Regions from separate parts of the Homo sapiens genome. Here region 2 is linked to region 1. Evidence: promoter capture Hi-C in human tissues and cell types (Jung and others, 2019). All regions are on one chromosome and are shown on one strand. The core of a region is centred on a gene start or on the middle of the fragment in contact, and the rest is flanking DNA. Distances in the headings are between cores, read along the strand shown. Region 1 holds the start of ELF2 (E74 like ETS transcription factor 2). Region 2 has its middle 44 kb from the start of RAB33B.

Region 1 (5,514 bases), core at 1,452-3,951:
CACAACTCTGAATATACAGTCGGCCCTCCATATCCATGAGTTCTGAATACATGGATTCAATCAATGAGGTACAGAAACTACTCAAAAAAAAATTATGTCTGTAAATGAACATGTACAGACTTTTTTCTGGTCATTATTCCCTAAACAATACACAGTATAACAACTATTTACATAGCATCCACATTGTATTAGGTAGTATGAGTGATGTGGAGATGATTTAAAGCATACAAGAGAATATGCAGAGTTTATATGCAAATACTATGTCAGTTTTATTCATTTTTCCTAGGAGACAGGATTTTGCTCTGTCACCCAGGTTGGTGTCCAAACTCTGGCCTCAAGAGATCCTCCCACCTCAGCCTCCTGAATAACTGGGATTACAGGCACAAGCCACTGCACCCAGCAACTATGCCATTTTATTTTAGGGACCTGAGCATCCATAGATTCTGGTGTCTGAGGAAGGCCCTAGAACAAATCCCCAACAGATACCGATGGACAATTGTAGTAAAAACCACTGAATTGTTCACCTGCAAAATGGAGTAATTTTTTAAAAAATTAATAAACCCACCAAACTGTACACTTTAAACTGAACTGACTAGTATGTGAATTATATCATCGTGAAGCTGTTACTCCTCCAAAAATGGTATACAACATGAGCAGGTAAAGCCACTAACATTAGCAGACCCTACAGGCCACAGGTACCAATCTGTTTACTTAGGACAGAAAAATCCCAAAGTTACAAATTCTTTCCAACCATACTCAAGCTGACTATTTTGTAAATGAGTATTTATGTCTGAAATGAAAGGCAATGATAAATCCAATGAGTTAAATCACTAAACTTAAAAATAGGTTGACATAAATATTCAAACTTCAAATGCCCAGGATATTCCAATTTTCTATTTCATGTGTTTAACTACTAGATATCGTCTCAATAATATTTACATGAATGTACTCTGTAAACTGTAATGCTCTATAAAAAGTTTTATTATTCCTAAATTCCCTTAAATGTAATTTAATGGTTTCCAGTCCTATATAAGTCATTCTACCTTTTGAAGAAACTCTGAAACACAAATATCCAATCCTTTCTTAGTAAAGCATACATCCTTCCGTGATTCTGGCACCAAAGAAAGTGCATAATTTACTTCAGGATAGAGAATCACAGATAAAAAGGAAAACAAATCTGATTATCAAACACACGATTACTATTCTCTCATCACCGGATTACAATTTAAACCATTAAGCTGAAGTAAATGTTCATGAACACAAGAAAGGGGGGAATTTTTAACAGTTTTACAATGACGTGTCCCCCTCTTCCTCATTTAATGAAGTACTAAACTTAAAGGCTATTCTGCAGCGAATCTGCCTCCTAGAAAGAGTCCATCCAGGATGCTGGCAGAGGGAAAAAGATTAGAAACTGTGCGATCTGGATTATTCTTGGTGTCACGGAATATTTTTTGAGTCCTTTATGGACATGGAATAAAAATGCCCAAATGGAGCAGAAGAGAGGGCTCGGCTACCCTGATCACAAAGCTCCTGGGGTAGAGTCAGCATCCAGCCCTGGCAGAGCCCTCCCTGTCCTCCTTCCGCGCCCCTAGACCATCCCGTCGCGCGGTCCCTGAGGACCAGCTTCGCGAGGATCCAGAAGGCGGTCACTGGACGTGCCTGTTACGAGCCCGTTTTTGTTTTGCTTAAGAAACAGATTCCGATCCGAGCAAAGCCTCCCTACCTCCCGGGGAATAGGGGGAGATGGCAGCACGGTGCCGGCGTGGAGAGCGAGAATAAAAGAACTGCCGAGTACAACCTGTCGTGCAAGCTAGCAGCGCCGGGAAGGAAAGGTAAGCGGCGGCGATAAGGCACGACAGGGAAGGAAACTGGTGTCCAGCGCCCCCCCCCGCCTGCCCGCCACCCAGAGCGGCCGGAGCCTCCCAGGTCCCGCCCCGAGCTCGCCGCCCAGCCCCGGCGCCGGCCGCAGACTCCCGCCCTACACAAACCCTCCCAGGACGCGCTTCCTCCGGAGCCGGACCCCCGCCCTGGCCTCCCCGCGGGATGAGGCGGGTCAGTTCAGTCCGCTTCTCGGCAGAGGTGACTCGCGCAGAGATGTAAACACGGAGAGACCAGCTGCGCTCGGCCCATCCCCCCCGCCGGGGTCTGTAACCTCTTCCCTCAGCCCTGCCCCGCGCCCCGCGCTCCCCGCGGGCAGGCGCGCAGCGCGCCTTCCCCTTTCTCCAAGTCCCGCTCCGCGACCGTTGCCTGGGGACACTCAGCCCCCTTCCCCCAGCCCCCGGCCGGTGTCACCGCCGCAGCCGCCGGAAAACCCCTCCGCAAACCCCGAAGCAAACAACACAAGCGCGGGGCGGGGGCGCGGAGGGAGGCGGCGGCAGTCGGGACAGCCAGGCTTTATCGCCGCGCCCTTCGCGCTCCCTCTCACCAGCCTCGGCTGCCCGCGCTCTTACCTGCTCTCCGCGACGCCTGGGAAGACCGCGGCGTCCTTTTCCCTCTCAGCAGGGCCGCGGACTAGCCGCCGCCGTTGGCCGAGCGTCCGGAGGGAGCCGGGGCCTCCCCAGCAGCCCGAGCCGCTCCACAGGGAGAGAAGGAGACAAAACAGAGGCTCGCCGCCCCGCGCAGCGACCCCCGCCCGCGCCGCCCCACCGACCCCCAACCGCCTAGGCGACGGCGGCGACACAGAGCTTGGCGCTGGGAGCAATGGTTGCCCCCGCCCCGCTCCGCTCCCGGCCCCCTCCCTCCACCCCCCGCCTCGGCTCCTCCCCCTCGGCCTCCTGCCGCCTCCACCAGGACACTGGAGTCCGCCTCCCCCTCCCCGCCAGCTCAGAGTGCTCCTCCCCTCCCCACGCGGCGGGGGGGCGGGGGCGGCACCGCCAGTCACCGCAGCGCCTGTCAAACGCGGGCCGGCTATTTATACCCCGCGGGGCCCCGCCGCCCTCGGGCCCCCACCAGCCCGCCGAACCTGCTTCTTTTGCTGTCTTGAATCCCGCCCTCTTCTCCTCGCCCAACTTCTCCCAAACCCGCCTTCCCAGGTAAAGACGCTCGTCACTTGTCCGGCTCCTTGCCCAGGGCTCCCCGATCTCGCTCTCCACTCCAGCCCCGGATTGGTGCAGGGGGCTCTGCCGCACGGGGCAGGCGTGTGAGGCCGATGGGGCCGCGCGTGCACCTGCAGCGCCCGCCGGCTTTCCCCCGCCGGCCGGGACCGCACGCACACACCCTCGCCACTCAGGGCCCCCGCAGGCCCCGCCGTCACCGCATCCCCAACTCAGGACTCTCGCCCTTCTCCGGAGACGGCCCCACAGTCGGGCAGTCTGACAGTTACAGGGGGGCGAGGTTTTGCAAAAACTCCTAGCCCGGTCTTTCCAGTTCCCACTCCTCAGCCTTGGCTTAGTGAAAGGTGGGGGTTCGGGCAGGAGCGCGACGCCGGCCCCGCCCCGGCCGGTGACGCACGTGGCGCACCGCCCCGCCAGCCTCGCGCCCCTCGGCGCCGCCAGCTCCTCCTCCCCGCTAGCAAAAGCCGGGCGTAGTACACCCGCGACCCCGCCCCATTCCCAGAAATTACCACCCGCCCAACAGCCCGGCCGCGCGGCGGTTGGTGCCGGCGTTTGCTGGCTGTCGGGTGGCTGGGCCCAGCGCGCAGCTGCGGAGCGCGGCGGGCGGCCCCTTGGAGCTGCCCGGGGAGCTGCGGGCACTCGCACCTAGCCATTGTCGCTCCTTGCGCGGTCCGCAACGGAGAAGTAACTCAAGTCTGAGTGTTGTTGGTGCGAGAATGAGAGAGTGTTCTGGTGTGGGAGTATTTTGGCCCAAGTGCCTGCGAATTCGAAAACGAAAACCCAGCAGTGGCTGCACGCTTCTGGTTTCCACACTTTCACACAAAGGGGAGCCTTCGAGCGGGGCACTCTCACGCGCCTTCAAGTGCACAAAAGCCAATGACACGGTGCCGTGGGTTGCCCTGTGTAGGAGCGTCTCTTTAATGGGCTTTGTAGGCACAGTTAATGCATACAAACGCCTCAGTCTATTTCTTCACCACCACCATTCCCCGCCGCGGCGTTTTCTGTATTTGTTTCTTTAACAAAGAGCACAGCCTGTCCGGTGCGCGCGGGGCTCCTTTTGCTCCCCTCCAGGGCTCCTGCAGCCTCGCCGCGATGGACCTGGCACCTGGCGCGGTATTCACCAGCTGATTTCTGGGCTCCAGCGTTACCCTTTTTACGGCTTCACAACCAGTCTGGAGCAAAGAAGAAACACTGAGGAATATAAGTGATAGCTGTTCTCTTGAAAGGGACGTGGGAACCGTGGAAATCACCCTAGAGTAAGGCTCAAATGTCAGAAAGCTGCAGGAGGCTCCAGATTTAAATCCCTGAAGAGCCTAAGAATGTAATGATCTCTTTCTTTTGTTAATACTGCTGTTGCCTCTATTTTCTTGGGGGTGAGTCTTCTCTTCCTTTCTTAAAAAGCAACTCTGGGCCGGGCGCAGTGGCTCACGCCTGTAATCCCAGCACTTTGGGAGGCCCTGGAGGGTGGATTGCCTGAGGTCAGGAGTTCGAGACCAGCCTGCCTAACATGGTGAAACCCCGTCTCCACTAAAAATACAAAAATTAGCTGGGCGTGGTGGCACACGCCTGTAGTCCCAGCTCCTCGGGAGGCAGGAGAATCGCTTGAACCCCGGAGGTAGAGGTTGCAGTGAGCCGAGATCGCAACACTACACTCCAGCCTGGGCGACAGAGCAAGACTCCTTCTCAAAAAAAAAAAAAAAAAAAAAAAAAGGCCGGGCGCGGTGGCTCACTCCTGTAATCCCAGCACTCTAGAAGGCCGAGGCGGGCGGATCACCTGAGGTCAGAAGTTCAAGACCATCCTGGCTAACACGGTGAAACCCCGTCTCTACTAAAAATACAAAAAATTAGCCGGGTGTGGTGGTGTGTGCCTGTAATTCCAGCTACTCGGGAGGCTGAGGCAGGAGAATCGCTTGAACCCGAGAGGCGGAGGTTGCAGTGAGCCCAGATCGCACCATTGCACTCTAGCCTGGGCAACGAGAGCGAAACTCCGTCTCAAAAAAAAGCAAGTCCGAGGGCTCTTATTCTTATTTAAGAAATTTTTACTCTTGAACACAGAGGAAACCTGGAGACCGTGACTGTTAATCAAAGATCCTCTTAACTCTTGACAAAGTTTTCTGGATTCCTGAGTTCTAAATCATGGGACTGTTGACACCCTTTTGAACTAAAGAATTTGTAACAATTTGGTAACATTCAAATCTTTAATACACAATAAACAGGATTCTGCAAACAGAGCACCCTTTCTAAGGGAGTCTTTTTATCTCACTTCTTGTAAATAACTTATCACTTATGGGAACCATTGCCCAATTTGATATTTGTAAGGAATTAATTAATAATCAATAATATTGCATCTTCATAACATAACATAGCATACTAAGGAGCCGGCAAAGACAAAGACTGATTCCTGTTGTTAGGGACAGATATCACCTGCCAAGTCACATAATTTCTGTTGTCAGCCACGTTG
Region 2 (5,514 bases), core at 1,492-3,991, 320 kb after region 1:
TATAGCCAGAATATGACATTATAGATTTTAAGCAGTAAGTATTTAAAATGGACATATTTTTCCAGATTAATGCACAATCTCTTTCATTCATTCTTTTGTACTTTTTCCTTTAACCAGTTTGGATGGAAATATCTCCAAGTAATATCATTTCTACTGTGAAAATTAAATGAATTAACTAATGAAAAGTACCCAGTTCAGTGCTTGCTGCAGAGTAAGTCATTCAATAAATTACAGCTATTGTTTCTCCAGAAATTCAAGGAAGGCAACCACAAGCTGATGGGGTGTTTATTCACCTGGCTGTCTTCTTTTAGAGGTTATATCAGGACACATTCATTACCTTGGAAAATTTTCCTCAGCAATCAGAGAATTGCTTAGTGAGTAGGAAATCAGAACCAGGGGCAGTGTGTTAGTCCATTTCCACACTGCCTTAAAGATACTACCGGAGGCTGGGTAATTTATAAAGGAAAGAGGCTTAATTGACTCACAGTTCTGCATGGCTGGGGAGGCCTCAGGAAACTTACAATCACGGCAAAAGGCAAAGAGGAAGCAGGCATCTTCTTCACAAGGCGGCAGGAGAAAGAGAGCAGGGGAAGCTGCCACTTTTAAACCATCAGGTCTCATGAGAACTCCCTCAATATCATGAGAACAGCATGGGGGAAAATGCTGCCATGATCCAGTTACCTCCCATCAGATCCCTCCCACCACATATGGGAATTACAATTCAAGATGAGATTTGGGTGGGGACACAGATCCAAACCATATCAGGGAGTTTTCAGTTATATAAACGTAATGTTTAATGATCTCTGATATATTCACTTTATAATAGGGATTAGTTGCCAGTGGGGCCAGAAAATTCAAGGAGCATGATTGCTTGGGCAGAGTTAGGTAATGTTTGCCTCTGTGACACTGTTTTTTTGGTACGTTTATACCTAATAACCTGGGTTTAAACTTTTTTTGTAATTTTTTATTGTGGAGATTTCAAAAACATATAAAAACACACATATAAGATCATGAACTCGTACTCATCACCCAGCTGAAATCCTTATCCACATGTGGTCAGTCTGGTTTTATCTACACCCACACTTCACTTCCCTTATCTCCCATATTAGCCTGAAGAAAATTCCAAATATCCTGATTGTTTTAAAAGATATTTTATCTAATCAAGTCCTGCTGGTTTGAGGGTCTTTTTCCCCCCTCTGGTGACTTTATTTATTGATTTCTCTGGCACAACTTATTAGGTATCTCTTTTCAGATCTTAAAATGGCTCCCAGAGTGCGATTTTGAGTTCTTGAGGGAAGCCTATGTTCTGACAATTGCCATTATCAGTAGGCAGAGTTCATTCCATTCGCTTTTATCTTTTCTTAATTACTCACGAACATCATTATGAGCATCAGTCCTTGGGCTGCACTATAAAGAGGAATGCCAGCTTTTCTGTGTTCTACCCAGGGCGCTTGATCCAGATGTGGGATCTTTGGGAGTGGAGCCCCAAATCTGCTTCTTTTACACGTTCCCAGGTGATTCTTCTGGCCACTGAAATTGGAGAAGCAACTGGCTGAGAACGTTTTCAGAGATTATTAAGGTACATAGATCTCAAGCCACGGTGCTGAAAAGCCAGAAAGGAGACTTTTAGAAACCCAGCTGCATTTTTCTAAATCTTCTCCATCCTCTCTTTTGCTGGCTCTGACTTTTCACTGGGTCAGAGGCTCTAAGGCTGGAACCTGATGTTCCACGGGGACTGTGTTATGGTTGTTCTTCTACAGAGTAAAGTGCATGAACTGAAATAGCTATTGACTGCTCAGAAGTCACTCAGTCTCAGGTTTCTGGCTGTGTTCCACATAGCTGTAGGTTTTGTAAATCGTACTTAGATAAGTTGTGTTCCTGTACACACACACACACACATGCACACACACAGAGTCCGAGTGCTATAATAATTCTGATAAAGAAATTTCAGAGGCCAAGCACAGTGGCTTATGCCTATAATGCCCAGCCAGTACTAATGATCTTATAACTCGTGTTTTACAGATAACTGTGCTCCAGGCAGAGAGAGATTTTAAAGACCTGTATGACACAGAAATGCTTCTGTTTGTTTTAAAAGATAAACCAGTTTTGTTCAACTTTGTTTACTGTAGGCGCCAGAAGTGCTATTAGCCCTCTTGAAATTTGGGCTCATTTAAAAATAAAGTCCGGGTGCGGTGGCTCACGCCTGTAATCCCAGCACTTTGGGAGGCCGAGGTGGGCGAATCACCCAAGGTTGGGAGTTCCAGACCAGCCTGACTAACATGGTGAAACCCTGTCTCTACTAAAAATACAAAAATTAGATGGGCATGGTGGCAGGCACCTGTAATCCCAGCTACTCGGGAGGCTGAGGTAGGAGAATCGCTTAAACACGGGAGGCGGAGGTTGCAGTGAGCCGAGATTGCGCCATTACTAAACTCCAGCCTGGGCAACAAGAGCGAAACTCCGTCTCAAAAAAAATAAAATAAAAAATAAAAAAATTTAAAAAGCCCTGGAAGTGGTGTCTTAATTTAGCTAATCAAAGTTCAACCTGATGATAGGAAAGAACATCAACTGAGTTTTCATGTTTTTTTTGTTTTTTTGTTTTTTTGTTTTTTTTTTAGACGAAATCTCTCTCTTGTTCCCCAGGCTGGAGTGCAGTTGCGCAATCTCGGCTCACTGCAACCTCCGCCTCCTGGGTTCAAGCGATTCTCCTGCCTCAGCCTCCTGAGTAGCTGGGATTACAGGCGGCGCCTGCCACTACGCCCGGCTAATTTTTGTATTTTTAGTAGAGATGGGTTTTCACCATGTTGGCCAGGCTGGTCTTGAACTCCTGAGCTCAGGTGATCCACCCGCCTCGGCCTCCCAAAGTGCTGGGATTTTTAAAATGTGTTAAATCATCCTTTCCCTAGAGGTGTTTGTTTTACAGCATGTCAGAAACAGTATGAGAATAAATCCTCACCACAAGAGGGAGCTGGACCATGAAGAAATTAATGGGTTGTTTTGGAAATAGAAATAAAAACTGGGAAAGTGCAGGAGATTTACGGTAAGACCATCAGTATCATCAGTGGTGACCGTTATTTGCACTAAGTGATTACTTCATTCTTTCAGTTGCTCAGATCAAAAACTGCGGAGTTCATCCCTGATTCCTTACTTCCTATTATATTAAAGCATGTCTTTTAATGCTGACTCTTTGACATCTAGGGCCTTGTGGGCTCTGGAGGGACTGCCCCCCACCCAGGGCTAGCTGATTCCTAGAGATAGCAAAGGCCTGGCACCTTTCACATGCAACCTAACCAAATCAGCCTCTGTGCCTACAACCACTTCCTTCTTAGGCCTCTTCCACTCCAAGCCACCATTACCCCAGGGTCAGGTACCAGACAACTAAAGACAGCCGGTACACCCCAGAATCTACTGAAGTTATTCAAGCTAGCCAATCCCAGGCCTGCTGACTGCCTCTCCATTTCTTCCTGCAGACACCACAATACAGGTTCTTGTCTACGTTTTCTCTTTACTCCATCTACCTCCTACTTGATCCTGGTGCTTCCCCATGTGGCCCCTGTAACATGGTGTGCCCCCTCCTCTTGGGAACTGTGAATAACAAACTATTGTTGGGGTTCAGAAGACAATATCCAGAAATGAAGGCCTCAGAGGCAGCTTCAGGAGCAAAGATTTTTCTCTGACTTTCTCCTGCCCTTCTGTCTCTGAGTCCCATCCTTCCCAGAGGCTGCCTATAGACCCCAAGGCAGATCCTGCCAACCAGAACTATTTTTCCCCAAAGCCAGCCATAAAACCTAAAAATATCACTCTAACTTTCCCTCTGCCTTTCTGTGTAAAAACTGACCATAAAGAAATTATCTCATGCCTGTAATCCCAGCACTTTGGGAGGCCAAGGTGGGCGGATCTCTTGAGGCCAGGAGTTGGAGACCAGCCTGGCCAACATGGTGAAATCCTGTCTCTTTTACAAATACAAAAATTAGGCATGATAATTGTTTGAACCCAGGAGGCAGGGGTTGCAGTGAGCCGAGATTGCACCACTGCCCTCCCACCTGAGCAACAAAGCAAGAGTCTGTCTCAAAAAGAAAAAAATTTTCTGACCTACCTTGTTTGACTATAGTCAGAAGACCCCCATTCCAGAAAGGGCACTAAAGCTGCCTTTGCAAAATTATAGTCAGAGAAATCTGACATAACTGACTATCTTGCTTCTACCAGGTTAACTTGCTTGTCCTCATTCTTGTGTGGAGGCCATAATAGTCCTTTCCTTGAACTGGTCCCTTCCTTGTTCAAAAATGGAAATCGAATTTGTAAAGACTAACAAGAGGACGCAAGGTTAGAATTATGGTAGAGGCTTGAACTTTGCTAAAGCATAGGCTGAGTTAAACAATGACCTGCCATTGCCAAGCTTGTTTTTCTGTAAGTTGCTTACTGCCCCAGAGTCGCAAGATTTATAACTTCCCCAACTACTCCTGTAGATAACATTACTACTGTGAAACCTGAAGAATCGGTCTTTGAGATATTTTTCAGATTTAGCATTTCAGCAGACCCAGAGATGCCACCTGGTCCCAAGACCCCCCCTCCCAGGAACTGATTCAGCTGCATGAAGACAGTTTAGACACCCCTGTGATTTTATCCACAGCCAATCAATCCTTTCAGTTTCCCAGCCCCCTTCCCACCAAAGTACCCTTAAAAACCCCAGCCTCTAAATTCTTGGGAAGGCAGATTTGAGAAATTTCTCCTGTCTTCCTGCTTGGCTGGCCCTGTGATCATTAAATTCTTTCTTCGCTGCAACATCTGCTGTTCTCAGTGCACTGTTTTTTTGTTTTCAGGGCAGTGGGCAAGAAGAACCCACTGGGTTCTGACAACCCTGCCCCATACCCAGAAGAAAGGAATGCATGCTCAGAGAGGCCAGGAAGAATCTAGACAGAGAGGTTTTGCTAGGTTTTCCCACTCAGCCTGTTAGCATTAGATCATGCCGTTTTTGTCCAAACATATTTCATACTTCATTGAACCTAAGTATAAAAATGGCCAATTTCCCCTATACCTTTGGATCATCATTCTAAAGGCTCTTGTGTATACACATTAAATAAATGTATGTGCTTTTTCTCCAATTAATCTGCCTTTTGATTTTGAGTTGATTTTTCAGCAAATTTTTGAGAGCGGCATTTGTCTCCTGATCTGTTGGCCTCACCATTCCTGAATAATCAGTGAAATGCCTAATGCCATATCTCAGCACATTCTACTGTTTCTTCCTATGATGCACGCCAGTTCAACCACTTCTCCTCACCATGGCCCCTCTGTCCTGCCCACCATCATCATGAACCCCCTGCTTCCACCTGGGTCCCTACTCCCACTCCAGCCTATTCTCAGTACAACAGCCTGAGTGATCCTTTTACACGTGGGAGGAAGATCTTGTCATTCTTCTGTTGAGATCCTTCCAATGAAAGGGCTAACAGCAATTACAATTTCAAAAGCATTTTCAGAAACTGTAGTAAACTAAGTTTAAGAAAGCTGGTGGTTTTT

What was found. The method cuts DNA at HindIII sites, captures the fragments that hold promoters and counts their contacts. A contact is called where the count stands out against the background at its distance.
Region 2: a contact is called between a fragment that was not itself captured here and the fragment with the promoter of ELF2 in region 1, in 1 of the 25 tissues and cell types used here (lymphoblastoid cells).

What each region holds. Positions count from the first base shown.
Region 1 is chr4:139,174,517-139,180,030 of GRCh38, forward strand. It overlaps ELF2 (E74 like ETS transcription factor 2), which reads right to left and starts at 2,702. Exons shown (of 10, transcript NM_001331036.3): 1 at 2,451-2,702. It overlaps LOC105379412 (a long non-coding RNA gene), which reads left to right and starts at 1,639. Exons shown (of 4, transcript XR_007058273.1): 1 at 1,639-1,832. RefSeq lists an enhancer at 1,673-1,722, silencers at 2,323-3,282, 3,293-3,672 and a cis regulatory region at 4,039-4,163. The HindIII fragment of the contact is 12,940 bases long and covers 1-5,514 here.
Region 2 is chr4:139,494,992-139,500,505 of GRCh38, forward strand. It overlaps a transcript of SETD7 not described here. Among named protein-coding and RNA genes, the nearest start is that of RAB33B, 44 kb to the left of the region's middle. RefSeq lists a silencer at 2,804-3,098. The HindIII fragment of the contact is 5,185 bases long and covers 150-5,334 here.